Regions from separate parts of the Homo sapiens genome. Here region 1 is linked to region 2. The links are contacts of gene promoters, found by promoter capture Hi-C in blood cells and fetal thymus (Javierre and others, 2016). All regions are on one chromosome and are shown on one strand. Each heading gives the region's core, a stretch centred on a gene start or on the middle of the fragment in contact. The rest is flanking DNA. Distances are from core to core; before and after follow the strand shown.

Evidence for each region. The method cuts DNA at HindIII sites, captures the fragments that hold promoters and counts their contacts. A CHiCAGO score of 5 or more calls a contact.
Region 1: a contact is called between a fragment that was not itself captured here and the fragment with the promoter of UQCRC2 in region 2, in 1 of 17 cell types (naive CD8 T cells). The highest score is 5.0, in naive CD8 T cells.

Annotation. Positions count from the first base shown.
Region 1 is chr16:21,802,663-21,807,722 of GRCh38, forward strand. It overlaps the pseudogene RRN3P1. Among named protein-coding and RNA genes, the nearest start is that of NPIPB4, 53 kb to the right of the region's middle. The HindIII fragment of the contact is 9,470 bases long and covers 1-5,060 here.
Region 2 is chr16:21,950,206-21,955,014 of GRCh38, forward strand. UQCRC2 (ubiquinol-cytochrome c reductase core protein 2) reads left to right here and starts at 3,156. Exons shown (of 14, transcript NM_003366.4): 1 at 3,156-3,251. The coding sequence starts at 3,219. RefSeq lists enhancers at 2,489-2,948, 3,037-3,754, 3,269-3,438, 3,449-3,498. The HindIII fragment of the contact is 11,485 bases long and covers 1-4,809 here.

The DNA.
Region 1 (5,060 bases), core at 1,561-4,060, 150 kb before region 2:
TGTCCCACCACAAGTTTGATTTGCTGTTTCTTCAGCATCTTCAATACCCTGCCGGGATGCATTCACCTATAACAAAGGGGGGGGAAAAAAGAATAAAAGGATTTAAAAAATACAACTATGTTATTTTGGGATGGAAATTCATCTGATATACACACGTTCAAGGTGTCCAGATTAGTGCCTTATATCACACCCCAACACAATACACAATTATGGTGCAAGCCTGTAAACTGACCTAGGTCATGAAGGAATTTAAATATAATAAACCAAGCCCCTTTTACTACATACTTATATAAAATCGACAACTATCACATGATGCTCTATGTCAGGTAGCCTCAACAAATTCAACATTTATTCTAGCTCTGATATGGTCTGGCTCTGTGTCCCCACCCAAATCTCACTTTTTTTTTTTTTTTTTTTTGAGGCAGAGTTTTGCTCTTGTTGCCCAGGCTGGAATACAATGGCAAGATCTTGGCTCACCGCAAACTCCGCCCCCCAGGTTCAAGAGATTCTCCTGCCTCAGCCTCCTGAGTAGCTGGGATTACAGGCATGTGCCACTGTGCCCAGCTAATTTTGTATTTTTAGTAGAGATGGGGTTACTCCATGTTAGTCAGGCTGGTCTCGAACTCCTGACCTCAGGTGATCCACCGGCCTCAGCTTCCCAAAGTGCTGGAATTACAGGCATGAGCCACCACGCCTGGCCCCAAATCTCATCTTGAATTGTACTCCTGTAAGTCCCACATGTTGTTGGGGGGGGGACTGGTGGGAGATAATTTGAATCATAGGGTAGGTTTCCCCCATACTGTTCTCATGATAGTGAATAAGTCTCACGAGATCTGATGGTTTTATCAGGGGTTTCCACTTTTACATCTTCCTCATTTTCTCTTGCCGCCACCATGTAAGAAGTGCCTTTCACCTCCCGCCATGATTCTGAGGGCTCCCCAGCCATGTGGAACTGTAAGTCCAATTAAACCTCTTTTTTGGCCAGGTGCAGTGGCTCACGCCTGTAATCCCAGCACTTTGGGAGGCCGAGGTGGATGGATCATGAGGTCAGGAGATTGAGACCATCCTGGCTAACACAGTGAAACCCCATCTCTACTAAAAATACAAAAAATTAGCCGGGCATGGTGGCACGTGCCTGTAATCCCAGCTAATCAGGAGGCTGAGGCAGGAGAACTGCTTGAACCCGGGAGGTGGAGGTTGCAGTGAGCCGAGATCGCACCACTGCACTCCAGCCTGGGCAACAGAGCGAGACACCATCTCAAACAAACAAACAAAAACATCTCTTTTTCTTCCCAGGCTCAGCTATGTCTTTATCAGCAGTGTGAAAATGGACTAATACAATCTCTATGCACAAGACACTCACAGACACATTGTGTAATAAACATATCGTCAATCAATTGAGCAGAAAAATGATGAACTGCAAGCCAAATGTGCATGATGCAATATTTATTTTGGTATATCACCATTCAAATATCTTAACATACCACTCAAACCATGCCATTTTTTATTAACTATGCCTGACCTTCTTTGTAAACATTCTAAAATGTTCCTTAAGTATATACCAGAGAAAGACTATAAAGAGTACATATACAGTTGGCCAGAGAGGTGCAACTCCAAGGGAGCACTGCACCAGTGAGCCCAAGCTCCAGCTCTTCTAAGACCTTGTTCCATCTTCCTGCTTTCCTATAGCATCAATGTTTTCCTCCACCAAAGCTCCTCTCCCCTCAGTCCACAAACCTGCTCACATCTCCCCACTCCTAAACCACGCCTCTTAGCCCTGCTCCATCCCCTCCTTCCACCACAACCCTGCACCAAGGTCTCTAACAGCCCCAATTCTGCTTCCCCACCATCCACATCCTCTCCCGAAATGCAGTTTCTGCGTCTTCACTGACATGGTCCTCCAGAAAGCAACAAAGACTACCTTCTAACCACTAAATCCAAGGACTGTTGCTCTTTTCATCTTTCTAAAAAATGACAGCAGTATCTGATGCTGCTGACCAAACTCCTCCTTCCAGCGGATTCTTCCTGAGCATCCAGACTCTTGGTTTTCCCCATACTTCTGATCACCCTTCTCCTCCCCTGTCCTAAACTGCATCTTTCCAAAGGTTTATGCTCAGGTCCCCATCTGCAGCCACGACTGCCTGTGAGTATTCTCTGGTAGGCTGCCCACCAGCAACTGAACCTGGCCAAGATGGAACTACTCTTCCAACTGCCTCCTCTTCATATTTTTTTTTTCTTTTTTTTTGAGACAGAGTCTTGCTCTGTCACCCAGGCTGGAGCAGAGTGGCACAATCTGGGCTCACTGCAAGCTCCACCTCCCAGGTTCACACCATTCTCCTGCCTCAGCCTCCCGAGTAGCTGGGACTATAGGTGCCCACCACCATACCCGGCCAATTTTTTATATTTTTAGTGAGACAGAGTTTCACCATGTTAGCCAGGATGGTCTCGATCTCCTGACCTCGTGATCCGCCCGCCTCGGCCTCCCAAAGTGCTGGGATTACATGCGTGAGCCACCACACCCAGCCTCCTCTTCATATTTCTAACTACCATTAATGGCAACACCAAGATTCGATTCCACAGGGAGCAACTATTGAAGGATTCCTTTCCCTTACTGTCTGCCTCCCCTCCTCCAAACCAGTCTCAAGGACCAGTTCACCTTTCCTCACAATGTCACTAGAATCTACCACTTCCTTTCATTCCCACTGCACCTTAGTGCGGGCCTCCTTAAACAAAGTTTTAACTGTTTATAATTATAATCTGCCCTTAAGAAAGGCCAAACAGGAAAAATCACTTCCGTAGGAATCCCTTCCTGACCCCACTGTGATTCTATCAGGTTCTCTAACTCATAATGTATGTTTCATTCATGGCATTTTCCACAACCATACTTTTACATTTGGATAACTATGTATTTAACGCCTTGTTCTCCAATCATGAGAAGGAACTGTCTACAACTCCCAGCACATGCACAGATGGAGTTCAAGACACATTCAAAGAAAGGAAGCAAAGAATGGTGCTAGTGGTTTCTTTTCTTTTCTTTTCTTTTTTTTTTTTTGAGATGGAGTCTCGCTCTGTCGCCCAGGCTGGAGTGCAGTGGCACGATCTCAGCTCACTGCAAGATCTGCCTCCCGGATTCAAGCAATTCTCCCACCTCAGCCTCCTGAGTAGCTGGGATTACAGGCACCCACCATCATGCCTGGCTAATTTTTTTTTTTTTTTTTTATAGAGACGGGGTTTCGCCATGTTGGCCAGGCTGGTCTTGAACTCCTGACCTCAGGTGATCTGCCTGCCTCGGCCTCCCAAAGTGCTGGGAATAAAGGCATGAGCCACCATGCCTGGCCAAGTGGATTCTTTTCTATCACTGACTATTGTTTCCACATACTGTGATTATAACAAATTCAAGTCAGTAAATGAAAATAAAAAAATAAAAAATAAAAAAAAGAAAATAAAAATAGATTACTCAATACTTACATCCAGCTTGAGTAGTTTTTCAATAATAAGCTCCAGAATTTCATGCCTCAAGGTTGGAAAATATACACTAATCCTTAGTAAGTTATGAACGTAACATTCCTAAAGGAGAAAACGTAAGATAAAACATTTCAACAGAGAATAAATATTTCACAGTTATGTAAGAAAAACATCAATTACATGACCTTTAGTTTCAAATATTGAAAAAGAAAAAAACAGACTATCCAGCAATACAAAAACTATACTGTTTCTACATGTATTATGTTCGGTATAATCATTTCAATTATCCCCAGTAAATGAAATTTTTAATTTGCATAACTATAGGTTTTTAAGTAGCTGTATTGATAAAACTCATATATCATACAATCACCAACTTAAAGTATACAATTTAAGTTTTTAATATATTCAGTTATGTGACCGTCAACATAATCAATTTCAGAACATTTATTTTTCTTTTAGAGACAGGGTCTTGCTCTCTCTCTCAGGATGAGGTACAGTGGGTGCAATCATAGCTCACTGCAACCTTGAATTCCCGGGATAAGCAATCCTTCCTCCTCAGCCTCCCTAGTAGCTAGAACTACAGGTGCACACCACCACATGAGGTTAATTCTTCCTTTTAGGGAGACATTTTCTCACTATGTTGCCCAGGCTGGTCTTCAACTCCTGGATCTTCCCACTTCAGCCTCCCGAAGTGCTGTGATTATGGGCATAAGCCACTGCACCCAGCCAGCAATTTTGTAACATTTTAATCACTCTAAAAAGAAATCCTACATCCATTAGTGCACCCCTAAAAAATGAAGACCTTGGCAACCACTAGTCTTTCTATGAATCTGCCTCTTTGAGACATTTCATATAAATGGAGTCATATAATACATGTTTTTAGGGTTCAATCATGTTGTAACATGTAAACCATTCCTCTCATATCAATGGAGTCATACACAGTTTGTGGCATGTTTTTAAGGTTCAATCATGTTGTAACATGTAAACCATTCCTTTCCTATCAATGGAGTCATATAATACACAGCCTTTTGGCATGTTTTTAGGGTCCAATCATGTTGTAACATATAAAGCATTCCTTTTCATTGCTGAGTAATATTCCATTGTACCATGTTTTGTCATCTGTTCATCAGTTGACAGACATTTGAGTTGCTTCTACTTGAGGCTATTATGGATGCTGCTGCTATGAACATCCATGTACAAGTTTTTCTGTGGACATATATTTTCATTTCTCTTGGGTATAAACCCAGAAATGGAACTGCTGAGTCACGTGTTAATTCTACATTTAACCTTGAAGAAATGCCAGGCTATTTTCCAAAACGGCTGCACCATTTTACATTCTCACAGCAACATATGACAGTTCCAACGTTCCCATTTCTCCATATCCTTGTGAACACTTGTTACTGTCTTCTCGTTCTGATTATAGCCATCCTTGTGGGCATTAAGTGAAATCATTTCCCTGATGGCTAATGATGTTGAGCTTCTTTTCATGTGTTTTGCAGAAATGCCTATTCAGATCCTTTGCCCTCTTCAGTTGGGCTATTTGCCCTTTTATTATTCAATTATAAGAGTTCTTTACATATACAAGTCCATTACCA
Region 2 (4,809 bases), core at 1,906-4,405:
ATCCAGACCAAGTTGGGTTTATAACAGGAATGAAAGGTTTATTTATAATTTGAATCAATCAATATAACTTAACACAGAATAAGACCAATCTGTTCACCTCAATACATGGAAAAAGTATATGTGACCAAAAACAATAATTATAGAATATTAGAAATTGATATGAACTTTTTTTTCCCCCCCGAGACAGAGTCTCGCTGTGTCGCCTAGGCTGGAGTACAATGGCAGTGATCTCGGCTCACTGCAACTTCCGCCTCCCAGGTTCAAGCAATTCTCCCTGCCTCAGCCTCCCGAGTATCTAAGATTTCAGTCAACTGCCACCATGCCCGGCTAATTTTTGTATTTTTTTTTCAGTAGAGACAGGGTTTTGCCACGTTGGCCAGGCTGGTCTTGAACTCCTGACCTCAGGTGATCCACCCACCTTGGCCTCCCATAGTGCTGGGATTACAGGCATGAGCCACTGTGCCTGGCCCAGGGAATATTTCATCAGAGATAATACCTGACAGGGTAGGATTCTGAAAGGAATGGGGAAGGAAATGCCAACATCGAAATTATGCATTGGGGAAGCCATGATTAATGCCTCTGGCCCTAAGATGGCAAGGTAATGTTGTTCCCAAGTATAAACCCACATCACCTTCCTCTGGTGTGTTTTACTCCTACTGTTGCCTGCTTTCTCTTTACATTCTCCCACCCCATACTCACCGCGAGCGCTCAGGCTAGGTAGTTAGGCTCCATAGAGTCAAATTGGACCCCACATTAACGAAACTAACAATTCGAGCTTTCCAGCAATGAACTCATCTGCTCTTCCATGTCTACTCTTTTCCTGTCTGCTGGTTTCCTCTCCCAGGGCTTTCAGTGTGTTCTACGCAGAAACCAGTTCAAGGACTGGGTTTTCTTCTGCAATAAAATGCTGGAGTTGTGGCAGAGACCTCCACAGTGAGAACAGCCACGGAGTTGGCTAGGAGGTGACATGATGTGGAAGTGGTGGATGTGTCCACAAGATGGCACTCCTAATTTGTAGCTTAATGCTTAATAGGACATTTTGCAATTGACAAACTTGGGATTTTATGATTTATGTAGCTGATATCATGAATTATGTTTCAAATCCTGCCACATTTTGAACAGAATTTATTTTTGCCCCTTTCTGATATTGGGTCATAACCTAAGAATGAGAGGACATTATAAGCAGGTGTGGGTGTGTGTGTGTGTGTGTGTGTGTGTGCACTTGAGTGTGGAGACTTTTGTGTTCCTCCTACCTGACCTGAACTGTTGAATGATGAAGTTACAATGATTGGACTCAGGGGTGCAGCTAGCTAACTTGGGAATTGGGGTTTTGAAGTACTGGAGACAGCTTTGTATGCCATGTTAATGAATTTGAATTTTATCCTGAAAAACGTGGCTGTCGTTGAAGAATTTTAAGCAGGCAGGTGGCTTGATCAGAGCACTGCTTCCCAGATTTCACTCAATGGTACCTGTATAACACATTCATGATTTTTGCTGTATCTCCGTATCATCAAGTTACTTAACGTTTTTACACCAACTTTTATTATTTTATAAATGTACTTAAAGAGGAAATTCACTACTAGCATTGCTTGCCATAATCAAAATAAATATATTATTAAAATGGAACAGTGCTAAATAAGGTGTACACATGGACATAGAGTGTGGAATGACAGACAATGGAGACTCCGAAAGGTGGAGGGGTGGGAGAGAGGTGAACGATGAGAAAGTACTTAATGGGTACCATGTACATTATTCGGGTGATGGGTACACTAAAAGCCCAGACTTCACCATTACTGCAATATATCCATATAACATAACTGTACTTGCGCCCCTTAAATTTATACAAATTTTTAAAAGGAAAAAATGGAAGTGTTCATCTATGTACCAACTTAAAATCATCTCACGCACCACTAGTGTTAAATCTACCACATGTGGGGAAACTGTGTGGTATGAATTGGGTTGAGGGCGTCCCCAGCAGGCACAGAAATTGGGTTGGTGCCAGGTTCTTAATGCCCAGATCTTAATTAGAGAGCCCAAGTCCGTTGTAGGCCTGGAGCAATTCAGACACAAGGCAAAAAGAAAGTACATTTGCCTATGCCTTGTAACGTCTACACCACCAGCCTTTCTGAAACTATTGTGCATACGAAGTCATCCCAGGATCTTGTAAAAACACCGATTCGGATCCAATATGGGACCTGGAGTTCATACATTTCTAATCAACTCCTAAATGATATTGATGCTGATACTGTCGGTTTCCCAACCAAGCAACGTAGCAAGGTACGAAACTCTAAAGTCCCTAAAGGGCAGGGACCACGCCTCTCGCGTTGGCATAGTGCCTAGCTCAAGGCACTTTCTGGGTTAACACTCGCTGAGGACCGGAGTGAACGCCCCCGCCCCAAGTCGTCACGTGACTGACTTTCTCCAACTGCCGGTTTCGGCTCACATAACACACCTACTATCCAAAACATTTCTATTTTCCTAACACAAAAACTATAGCTAAGTTTTTATATTCTATGTAGCCCCAGCCTAGGACGTAAATTCCACGAGACCAAAAGCCTTGTGATGATTCCCCGAGGTTGCTGACCCTCCCGGTGTGTCCCGGGCCTGCTCTGGGGGACACAGCGGCGAATACGTTGAACGAGGCCCCTGTTTCACGGAGCTAAAGATCCAGTAAGGACTTCACCCAGCGAGAGGCAACTACGCCGGGCTTCGATACCCAATACCTCTGCAGAAAGGTGGAGTGGCAGGAATCTCCTGAAGCCTCCAACGTCCAGGAACGCGGAAACCCAGGGCCTCCAGTGCAGGTGTCATCCCGGAGGGCGCATGCGGAGTCCCAAGAGAGGCGCGTCCCATTGGACAATGCTGAGCGGAAGAGCCCAAGATAGCGGGGGGAGTTGTGACAGGCTGCTGCAGACGTACTTAGAAAAGGGGTGCATACTGGATATTCAGGCTAGGAGAAGAACGCAAAAAGCAGTGACGTACATTATTCTCTGCATATATTTACTTGGGAAATTGTGCGTCTCCCTATTCTGAGTCTTGGAGGAATTGGACTGGTCCAACCTTATAAAGAGAGCAGTAGAGCGCGGCAGTATAGAGAGTACCTCACGAAGGGGACGTGGGAAAGTGTTAGCGGGGAACGCTGGGAAACTCCCGGCCTCCGCCACCATCTTGCTTTCCTTTAATCCGGCAGTGACCGTGTGTCAGAACAATCTTGAATCATGAAGCTACTAACCAGAGCCGGCTCTTTCTCGGTGAGCTCAGGTGGCGGGTTTGGGAAAGGGCTGGGGAGCAGTGTGTCGACAAGGTGATACGAGGCGGAGGTGTCTGGTCTGGGGTCTGGGCCTTGGGATTCGGTCTGCCCTTCAGCTGAACCCTGCGGGCCAAGTGGGCTGCAGACTGGGTCAGGCTTTGGAGGCCCAGCTCATGCTGTGAGCACAAGAGACCTAACACCGGGAAACCTGAAGAGAGGGGCAGGACGTGAGAGCGGAGTTGAAGCGAGTCCTTGGAGAGACTTCTGAAGGTCACTCCGGTACTCAAGTGCTGGAGAAAGAGACCGTGAAACCCAGGGGGAGCGGGAGGACGGCGCACTTAGCCCCCCACCTTCACTTTATCCGCTGCAGCCTCTGCTCCTTGGTTTATCACGGAGCGTCAGTTTCCCCAGCGAATAAAAGTATAAGAAAGGAGCTAATGCAGATAGAACACTTATTACAGTACCTGGAACTTCATTGTTAAATACTATGGTGTCTTAGTAGTCTAACGTTGCTTTTCTTGATCGTATGTTAGACGGTTCCTCCAAGACGTCTCTGTTTGTCCTCAAAAGCTCCTTAATTAAGTTTCCCCTTCAAGCCTAAATTAAACATAGCTGTCACTTGGGGAAAACTCACACATCAGGGTTATATCACTGTGGGACAGTGGTTATTAAGAGGGGTAAGGGGGAACACTTAAAAAATCATAGCGAGGGACAGAATGCCCCCAGGGAACCGGTGGCGATGTTTGGAGACATATTTAGTTGCAACAACTTGTAAGGAGGGTGCTATTGGCATGGAGAGGCCAGGGATGCTGCTAAACTTCGCCTTACAGCAAAGAATTATCTAGCCCCAAGTGCCAGTAGTAGTACCTGTGTTGAGAAACCCCCCTAGATGGAGATGCAGAAGACCAGACCTGGGCATGGAATGTTCTTATGCTTTATGTTTACATAAATGTGCTGTGGGCTATATCGATTTAGGCTGTAATTGCATTAACCTTCCAGGTATACCTAGACACACCAGTGATTACCCTTGGAGGGAAGCACGGTTAGATTGGCAAAAGACCCCAACATTTCCTTCTCCATTCTATTTTGCAACAGAAAAAGCTCAGAGAAAACAGTTGGAGAGGCCCAAAGTAAACAAATTGCAGTAAACTTGAAAGCAATTATTTATGTGTCTAATTTTAGCACTTTATATAGGAGAATAAACTTAGATATATCTTGTTATTAGAACAAAATAATTTAGAAGATTGCATGACAGTTACTAGGATAATTTGCTGATTTGAATGGGACGATTAAGAAGCACATTACCGGCGGAGCGCGATGGCTCACACCTGTAATCCTAGCACTTTGGGAGTCAGAGGCAGGCGGATCACTTGAGATGAGGAGTTCGAAACCAGTCTGGCCATCATGGTGAAACCCCGTCTCTACTAAAAATACAAAAAAAAAAAAAATAGCCGGGCGTGGTGGTGGTGGGCGCCTCTAATCCCAGCTACTCAGGAGGCTGAGGCAGGAGAATCTCTTGAACCCAGGAGGCGGAGGTTGCAGTGAGCCGAGATCGCACC